Linked DNA regions of Homo sapiens: regions 1 and 2 are each linked to region 3. Evidence: promoter capture Hi-C in human tissues and cell types (Jung and others, 2019). All regions are on one chromosome and are shown on one strand. Each heading gives the region's core, a stretch centred on a gene start or on the middle of the fragment in contact. The rest is flanking DNA. Distances are from core to core; before and after follow the strand shown. Region 1 has its middle 18 kb from the start of MSX1. Region 2 overlaps LOC101928306 (a long non-coding RNA gene). Region 3 holds the start of TMEM128 (transmembrane protein 128).

What was found. Contacts are between HindIII fragments. The study calls those that stand out against the background at their distance.
Region 1: a fragment that was not itself captured here is called in contact with the fragment with the promoter of TMEM128 in region 3 in 1 of the 25 tissues and cell types used here (mesenchymal stem cells).
Region 2: a fragment that was not itself captured here is called in contact with the fragment with the promoter of TMEM128 in region 3 in 2 of the 25 tissues and cell types used here (spleen and thymus).

What each region holds. Positions count from the first base shown.
Region 1 is chr4:4,875,714-4,878,615 of GRCh38, reverse strand. No RefSeq gene overlaps it. Among named protein-coding and RNA genes, the nearest start is that of MSX1, 18 kb to the right of the region's middle. The HindIII fragment of the contact is 3,207 bases long and covers 1-2,902 here.
Region 2 is chr4:4,936,068-4,939,185 of GRCh38, reverse strand. All of the region lies in intron 2 of LOC101928306 (a long non-coding RNA gene), which reads right to left. Among named protein-coding and RNA genes, the nearest start is that of MSX1, 78 kb to the right of the region's middle. The HindIII fragment of the contact is 6,944 bases long and covers 1-3,118 here.
Region 3 is chr4:4,246,718-4,249,532 of GRCh38, reverse strand. It overlaps TMEM128 (transmembrane protein 128), which reads left to right and starts at 1,310. Exons shown (of 5, transcript NM_001297551.2): 1 at 1,310-1,427. The coding sequence starts at 1,331. RefSeq lists enhancers at 930-1,039, 1,342-1,968. The HindIII fragment of the contact is 14,953 bases long and covers 1-2,815 here.

The sequences.
Region 1 (2,902 bases), core at 117-2,616, 630 kb before region 3:
ATTACAGCCCATCATCCAGATGAAAAAACTGATCGTGATCACTTAACGGGGTTCAGAAATCCACCAAAGGTCACACAGCCAGGGAGTGAGGGGCCAGGATTTGAACTCAAGCTTCCTGGCTCCTGAGCCCCCAGACTCAGCCAGTTCCTGTGTTCATACTTCCTCTCACACCATAAAACGTAAACCTTTAGGAAAATTGAGAGAAGTTTCCCAAATGGAAGGAAAAGAAGGGGAATTGTGGGTCCTCACACACCATCTCAGAGCCAAGGGGAGGTGGTATTGATTCCAACTTCTTGGATCACTGTGGGGATTGAACTAGAAAATAAACATTCTGGCTTATGGAAGTCCTCAGAGATTGGCACTTCCCTTCAGCACCAGCCCCGGAAGCCCCATCACCCTGAGCCGGTCCATCTCTTGGAATCTTGAAGTGTCCTGTGTCTGGTCGGGACAGGTAAGTAGCAAGATATTCGTGGAGCTGGCAGGCCTACATGGAAATGAGGGCCAACTTTTTCACCTTTATCATTTTCCCCCAAATCCAGGTTCCAGGGACTTGACTGCCATGGCCAGCTGTCAAGGGTGAGGCTGCTGACTTCTCGGCACCCACCTCCATGCCTCCTGGGCCTCCCTGGGTTCCGTGGGGCCTCCTCCGAGTATTGATGGCAGGAAGGACAGGCCCTAGAGCTGGGCTCAGAGCTCAGCAGGGCCCAGTTTGCCATCCTGAGGCTCCTCCAAGCCTCAGGCTCCTATTGTGCAGAACAAGGACAGAAATCCTTCAGGCCAGGAGCAGTGGCTCACACCTGTAATCCCAACACTTTGGGAGGCTGAGGCAGGCAGACCTACTTGACGTAGGCCAGGAGTTCGAGACCAGCCTGAACAACATGGTGAAATCTCGTCTCTACTAAAAAATAAAAAAATTAGCTGGGCCCGGTGTCATGTGCTTGTGATCCCAGCTACTTGGGAAGCTGAAGCAGGAGAATTGCTTGAACCCTATCCGGGAGGCACAGGTTGCAGTGAGCCGGGATCACGCCACTGCACTCTAGCTTGGGTGACAGAGCAAGATTCTGTCTCAAAAAAAAAAAAAAAAAATCCTTCATTCACTTAACAAATATCAAAGTCCTACTGCGTGCTGGGCGCTGTTCCTGGTGCTGGGAAGATCAGGGAATTACACAGATGAAGCCACTGCCCTCACGGAGCCCAGAGCCTAGTGAGGGACAGATAAAGAATAAACAAACGTGTAAGCATGACCTCTGCTGCCATGGAGTGGTTTAAATGGAGAAAAACAAAGCAAGGTGAGGAGGGATCGTAAAGACTCACAACAGCACAATTTTAGGCAAGGGGTCAGGAAAGGCTTCTCTGAGCCACCGAGCAGGTACTTGAGCCAGGTAAAAAAGGGACAGAAAGAATCACACAAATAACCAGGGCACAGCGTTCCAGGAAGAGGGAACAGCAAGTTCAAAGGCCCTGCGGCAGGGATGTGTGCACTGTGCTGGAGAGACAGCCAGAATCACTCAATGGCATCAGTCATTGAAGTCACAAGAGGCAGGGGAGCTACATCCTGTAGGGACTTGCGGGCCAGGGTAAGGGACACTGGAGGAAGGGGAACATTTAGCAAAAGAAAAGACTTAGGAGGACAAGGGATAGTATAGAGCCAGGCCTCAAAGTCAACCAGACAAGGTTCAGACTATGGCTGTTATATTCAATAGCTGTGTGACCTCAGAAAAGTTCTCTAAGCTTTCTGAGCCTCTGTTTCCCCATCTACAAAATGAGTCATTGGCTGGGCATGATGGCTCATGCCTGTAATTCCAGCACTTTAGGAGGCCGAGGCGGGAGGATCACTTGAGGTCAGGAGTTCGAGACCAGCCTGGCCAACGTGGAGAAATCCTGTCTCTACTAAAAATGCAAAAAAAAAAAAAAAAAAAAAATTAGATGGGCGTGGTGGTGGGCGCCGGTAATCCCAGCTACTGGGGAGGCTGAGGCAAGAGAATCACTTGAACCCGGGAGGCAGAGGTTGCAGTGAACAGAGATGGCGCCACTGAACTCTAGCCTGGGTGACAGAGCGAGACTCCGTCTCAAAAAATAAAATAAGTCATCAAGAAGATTCGATGGCAGGGGGGCAGCCCGGGAAGGGAAAGTACCAGGACAAATAACTAATGTATGTGAGGCTTAACACCTAGGCGATGGGCTGATAAATGCAGCAAACCACCGTGGCACACATATACCTAGGTAACAAACCTGCACGTTCTGCACATGTATCCCGGAACTTAAAGTAAAATAAAAATTTGTAATAAAAAAAGAAGCTTCTGCAGCTCAGCTCCCTCTGTGTGACCTGCCTTCTCTGAACTTCAGTTTCCTCCTCTCTGGCCTTGGTGTTCCTTCTCATAAAACAGGGGTAAGAATGTCTTCATGTACTGTGGTGACCTCATGTCCAAGGTGATTATTAAATAATATAATATATGTTGAGTTTTCTCCCAGCACAGTGTCACTTACGAAGACGAACATTTGAAGTGTATTTTCATAATCTTTAGTTAATATCTGTCTCACCTAAGCTCCAGCCTCCATAAGGGCAGAGACCTTGCTTTTGTCCCTCTTTGCCAGTGTGTCCCCAGCACTAGCCCAGGTCCTGGGTACATAGTTGGTGCTCAATAAGTGGTTGGTGCTCATTATGGGTAAGATAAATGCTAACTGAATAGGTGGATAGATAGACAGAAAAATTAACTGTTTCCCCAAGGTGGTGAGTGCCCCATACCCGGAAACGTACAAGAAAGCATCAGAGCAGAGATTGGTTTCACTTATTCACTCAACAAACATTGCTGGGCTGCCCCATGTACCAGCCCTAAGGACTCACAGGGTCACAGCAATGAGTGAAACTGGGAAGCCCCTGCACATTCCAGTGGGGCTAAAA
Region 2 (3,118 bases), core at 56-2,555, 690 kb before region 3:
CAGCTCACTGCAACCTCTACCTCCTGGGTTCAAGTGACTCTTCTGCCTCAGCTTTCTGAGTAGCTAGGATCACAGGCGCCCACCACCAAGCCTGGCTAATTTTTAGTAGAGATGGGATTTCATCGTGTTGGTCAGACTGGTCTCGAACTCCTGACCGTGGGGGATCTGCCCACCTCAGCTTCCCAAAGTGCTGGGATTACAGGCATGAGCCAGCCACTGCACCCTGCCATGATTGCAGTTTAATAGTAAATTTAAAGAATCACAGGGCAAGAAGAAAACCACAAAAGAAAAGATGCTTTATATTTCAGTAACTTTATTTTTCAATATTTTTTGGGATACTGGTGGTTTTGGGCTACGTGGATAAGTTTTTAAGTGGTGATTCTGAGATTTTAGTGCACCTGTCACCTGAGCAGTTACACTGTACCTAATATGTAGTTTTTATCCCTCACCCTACTCCCTACTTCGTCAGGGTCCCTGATCACTCTTACGCCTTTGTGTCCTCTTAGCTTAGCTCCTACTTATTGGTGAGAATATATGATATTTGGCTTTCCATTCCTGAGTTACTTCACTTAGAAAGGCCTCGAGCTCTGTCCAAATTGCTGCAAAAGACATTATTTTGTTCAATTTTTTGGCTGAGTAGTATTCCATGGTGCATATATACTACATTTTCTTTATCCACTCGTTGGTCAATGAGCACTTAGGTTGGTTCCATATCTTTGCAATTGTGAATTGTGCTGCTATAAACATGCTTGTGCGAGTGTATTTTTCAATATAATGACTTCTTTTCCTTTGCGTAGATACCCAGTAATGGGATTTCTGGATTGAATGGTAGTTCTACTTTTAGTTCTTTTGGGAATCTCCACCCTGTTTTCCATGGTGGTTGAATTAATTTACATTCCTACCAGCGGTGTAAAAGTGATCCCTCTTCAACACATCTATGTCAACATCTTTTCTCCTTTTTGAAAAAGGGGCCCGCCATTTTCATTTTGCACTCTGGCAGCCTTGCCTGGGGAGACAGACACGACGAAGAGGCATGCTCTGGCCTCCAGGTCCTGAGTGTGGAAAGAGGTGAGATGGACAGTTACAGACACAGACCGCCAGGCTCACAGCTCTGCGTTTATCTCTCCTTCCAGCACATGGCTTGCTGCATGGTCATTGTTCATTGTTCTTCTGCCCCCTAGACTGTAGGCCCCATGAGGCCCTGGCCCTGGCACTGAGTCCTTGAGGAGTGCCTGTGAATGAACAGATGGCCTCTGACTTGATACCTTCTCTTTGTTCACATAATCACTTGATTCCCATCCAGTGGGGTGCTTAGTTCTAGACATGCCTGTTTTGAATTATCCCTCTTGGCCATTCGTTTTAAGTCACACATACTGCGATTGTTTTTGATTAAGGCAGCAAGGACATGAGGAATAACAAGAGATGAGACGTGCTTGGCCTTCCCGGGGATCCGACAGGAGCTGCCATGCTTGATGTCTCCAGTGGATTTCCATTTCTGCACCCCGTCCTAGAGATTCAAGAACTTGTCTGGTCCTCCAATCCTAGGAACCTTGGTAGCACAAGGGCCAATCTGCTCCAACACTGCCACTCCCAGGTAATCACATCTTGCTACAATTTCCTATTTACATGTCTGCCTGTGCAATTCATTTTGTAGAATGAATGAATGAATACATTAATCAGTAAATCAAAAGATGGAAGAATCAATGAAAGAATAGCAAATCAGAATAATGACTGCTGAATTTGCTCCCCTTGCTCCCCAAGGTCCTAGAGGGTGTGCTTAGTCAGTACTGAGTGCTTGAACCATGAGACCTCTGGCTCCTGTTGTATCGAGCTAAGCTGGGAATGGCAGACAGACCAATCATGTCAAGGTTCAGCTTTTCAGAGGCTGCAGGGTAAATGGGGCAACAGCACAGGCTTTAGAGCCAGGTGGACAAGGGGTAAAATCTCAACAGTCCTGCTACTTTCTGTGATTTTGGACAAATCTCTTGTTGCCTCTAAGACTGAGTTATCATTTCTGCAAAATGGAAAATATATGTATCTTATGGGATTTTTAAAAATCATTGTATATCATTTATATTTTTAAATTGGCAATTCCTGGCATCAATTATGATTCTTATTTCCATCTGTGCCTAGATACACATAGAGATCTCAAGGCAGCTGCTATGGGAGTAGCTTCCAAGGTCATAGAGCTTTCATCTGCGTTATTTGGCCCATGAGATGTTTTCCATGTTCTGAGCTAGCTTGTATGATTAACTGATGGGAAAGAAGTAGAAAAACTAGCAGACACTCAATAAACATTTACTGAGCTGAATGGCATCCAGGGACCTCCCCATGCCCTGCTTCCATTAAAGGCAAAGCTGTTCCCCACTTCTCAGGACCCTCCTTGTCCTCTCTTCTCCCTACTCCATGCCAACAGCCACCAGGTCCTGCAGGTTTTGTCACTGTGTATTAGTTCACCATGAGTGCCTACTGTATGACTCGTGCTATGCTGGCCACTGTGGATGTTGTGGGGAGCAAATCAGGAGAGGTCCTTGTAGAACTTAGTTTGGTAGAAGAAAACAGACCCTATACAAATACACACCAAATATTCGTTTCATTACATACTGCACACAGGGCTCCAGTGAAACAGGATGGCGAGGGAAAGAGTATGAAACTTCAGTGGGTGGGAAGAAGAAAGGTTCTGTTGTTGTTATTGTTTTCAGACAGAGCCTTGTTCTCTCACCCAGGCTGGAGTGCAGTGGCGTGATCTTGGCTCACTGCAACCTCCGCCTCCTGGGTTCAAGCAATTCTGCCTCAGCCTCCTGAGCAGCTGGGATTACAGGTGCACACCACCACAGCCAGCTAATTTTTATACTTTTACTAGAGATGGGTTTCACCATGTTGGCCAGGCTCATCTCAAACTCCTGACCTCATGATCCACCCGCCTCGGGCTCCCAAAGTGCTGGGATTACAAGCGTGAGCCACCACACCCGGCCGAAGAAAGGCCCTTCAAGAATGAGAATTTGCTGACCAGGAAAAAAAAAGATGAGAAGTGCTTCAGCGGCAGAGGAAATAGCACATGCAAAGGCCCTGGGGTCTGAAAGCACTCTGCAAGCCCAGCTGGAACTCAGTGAGCGAG
Region 3 (2,815 bases), core at 61-2,560:
GCGTGAGCCACCGCGCGCGGCTGGCACTCTTTTCTTGAGTATTTCTTATTACATTCCTTTTACAAACACCCCAACACATCGAAGATATTAAACAGTGCCTACTAATTCAAATTTTACTTCCTATGTAGCTGGCTCTCCACCCCTGTATTCAACTCACCTGAAACCACTCTCCCTGCTCTCCCACACTGCAGCAGAATAAACTGCCCTTTATATGTACAGTGTTTCTATTATGCCCCATGTACAGTGTTTTTATTATGGCACTGTATTGAAGCTGCTTCCTCTACTAGATTCTTCTGTCCTCACCATTTTATCACATGCAGCTGCTCAGAAAATGTTGGCTGCATTGATGAAATGCTTTCATACATTTACAAATAGAGTTTTCTTGTAATATACCTCTGTGGTTTTCTTTGGACAAGGAGCTCCTCACGTGCAAGGCCATGTCTTACTCATCTTTATCTCCACTGCTAGCATGGTGCCTAACAGCTCCTACCAAATAGTAGATGCTCAGTAAACGTTTGCGTGGCTAAGCCCACCATTTCTCAGCACATGACACGCTGGGAAACGGCTGGGAGAGTAATACGCGGGATTATTGACGAAGAAAAAGTTGTGAACTCGTAACACACAGTTTGTGGGCGTGAGCAGTGTGGAAAACCGCAGTTTGCTGGGAAAGCAATTTAGTTCCCTCGGTTCAGGCTGGGAGGATTTTTCACAAGTGGCGAGGAGGAGGCTCACATGAACCACATACAGGTACTTCTCACTGAAACGCACAACAAATCTAGAGCCAAGTGTAATAACGAAACGGGCCCCAAGAAGTTTATTTAATGCCCAGGGCCCCCAAGTGGTCACTGCCAGGCTCTAGCATCCTGTCCAGCAGGCCTTTCTCCTCCTTTCAAGTCTTGCTGGACGACTCCTGAAAAGCAAAAGTAGGAAAAAAACTGGGGGCTGAGAGTGGAAGGCTGGACAGAGGGTATGTCTCCTGCTCTGGCACCCGGAAGCCTGCGAGGGCTTCGGAAGCGCAGCGTCTCACGGTCGCGCATCCCGGCCCTGGACGCATCCAGCGGCAGCGGTAATCCTGGTCCTCCTGGGCTTCCGTAGGTCGGAATAAACTTGGGAACTCTTCCACCGGCAAAGCTCAGTGTTTTAAAATTCAAATCACACTTGCCGACATGAGAGCGGAACCTTTGAGGCCGACTCCACCCTAGCTGCTCGCTAACTAAACAGCGAAGAGAACACAGTCTCCAATCCAAACGCCAGGAGGTCCAGACCCGGAGCGGACGCCGGAAGCGCTGTGTCTGACGTCACTTCCGTCGCATTTCGGGGCGGTACCAAGATGGACTCCTCGCGGGCCCGGCAGCAGCTCCGGCGGCGATTCCTCCTCCTGCCGGACGCCGAGGCCCAGCTGGACCGCGAGGGTGACGCCGGGCCGGGTGAGGCGCGCACCAAGCCGCCCCGAGGTTCTCAGAGGCGAGGCGTCGGAAAACGGCCGGCCTCCGGCAGCCCTGGCCCAGTCTGGAAGGACTGAGTTTCGGCTTTGCAAGTCGAATATTTAATGTCAGGGAAGATCCTTAGAATCGCGGAGTGCTGTGCATCGTCATTTCAGCTGCGCTTCAGAATTCTCTGGAGAGCTGATTTGACACCTATTTGGAAATAGCGATTAAAATTAAAAATACCCACCAGTTTTAAGTCTTAAGGATTTACCAGAAACATGCGTGTACCGCAGTGTACAATGATGTGCGCAGTGTTTCACTTCAGGATTGCTTGTAATAGCGAATTACTGGAAATATCTGCCTTGCCCGTCAGCAGAAAGCTGTTTAAGTAAATTTGGGTATATGTATACCTGACACATCAGGTCGACTCGTATGTACCAATGGGGATGATTTTCAAAGGGAAGTGTGGAACACTATGGTATGCCGCCATTTGGGTACAAAACAGGTAACTTGTGATGTATGTTCACCTGTGAATGCATAGAATATGGAAGAATTCAGTAGAAATTGTAAGTGGTGGTTGCTTCTGGGGATTAGATCTGAGGTTAAGGATGGGAGACAGATACTTCATTTTGGATATTTTTTATCTCATATGTTTTAAAACCACGTCCATTTATTACCTTTTAAAATTAAAAACACGAATAACCTCATGCCCAGGCATGATGATGTATACATTTTGAGGATATCCCAGAATATTACGAACATGCTTCCCAGGGTTTCCGATGGTCATCTAAAGGCCCAAAACCTCAGATGTGGACCATTGATTCTCACGTGAACCTAGAGGGCATGTCAGAATCCCCGGAAAACTTAATAGAAATCATCCATCTGACCCAACCCCCATCCACCCATTCTTTCAGATTGCGTTCCAGACAGGAAAAATGTCTTGTCCATCACCTGTCTAGACAGTGCTGTGCTGGAACTAGAGCTCTGGTGTGCCGTTTCCACTTTTGAGCTGTGTTTAAAGTAACTAAAATATTTAGTTATAGGCTGGGCAGGGTAGCTCACGCCTGTAATCCCAGCACTTTGAGAGGCTGAGGCGGGCTGATCACGAGGTCAGGAGTTCGAGACCAACCTGGCCAAATAGAGCAGCCTGGCCAAGATGGTGAAACCCCGTCTCTACTAAAAATACAAAAATTAGCCCGGCGTGGTGGCAGGCGCCTGTAATCCCAGGTACTCGGGAGGCTGAGGCAGGAGAATTGCTTGAACCCGGGAGGCGGTGGTTGCAGTGAGCCGAGATCAAACCATTCCACTCCAACCCGGGCGACAGAGGAAGACTCCGACTCAAAAAAAAAAAATTTAGTTATAAAAGTGTTCTTGGAAGACCACAAGTC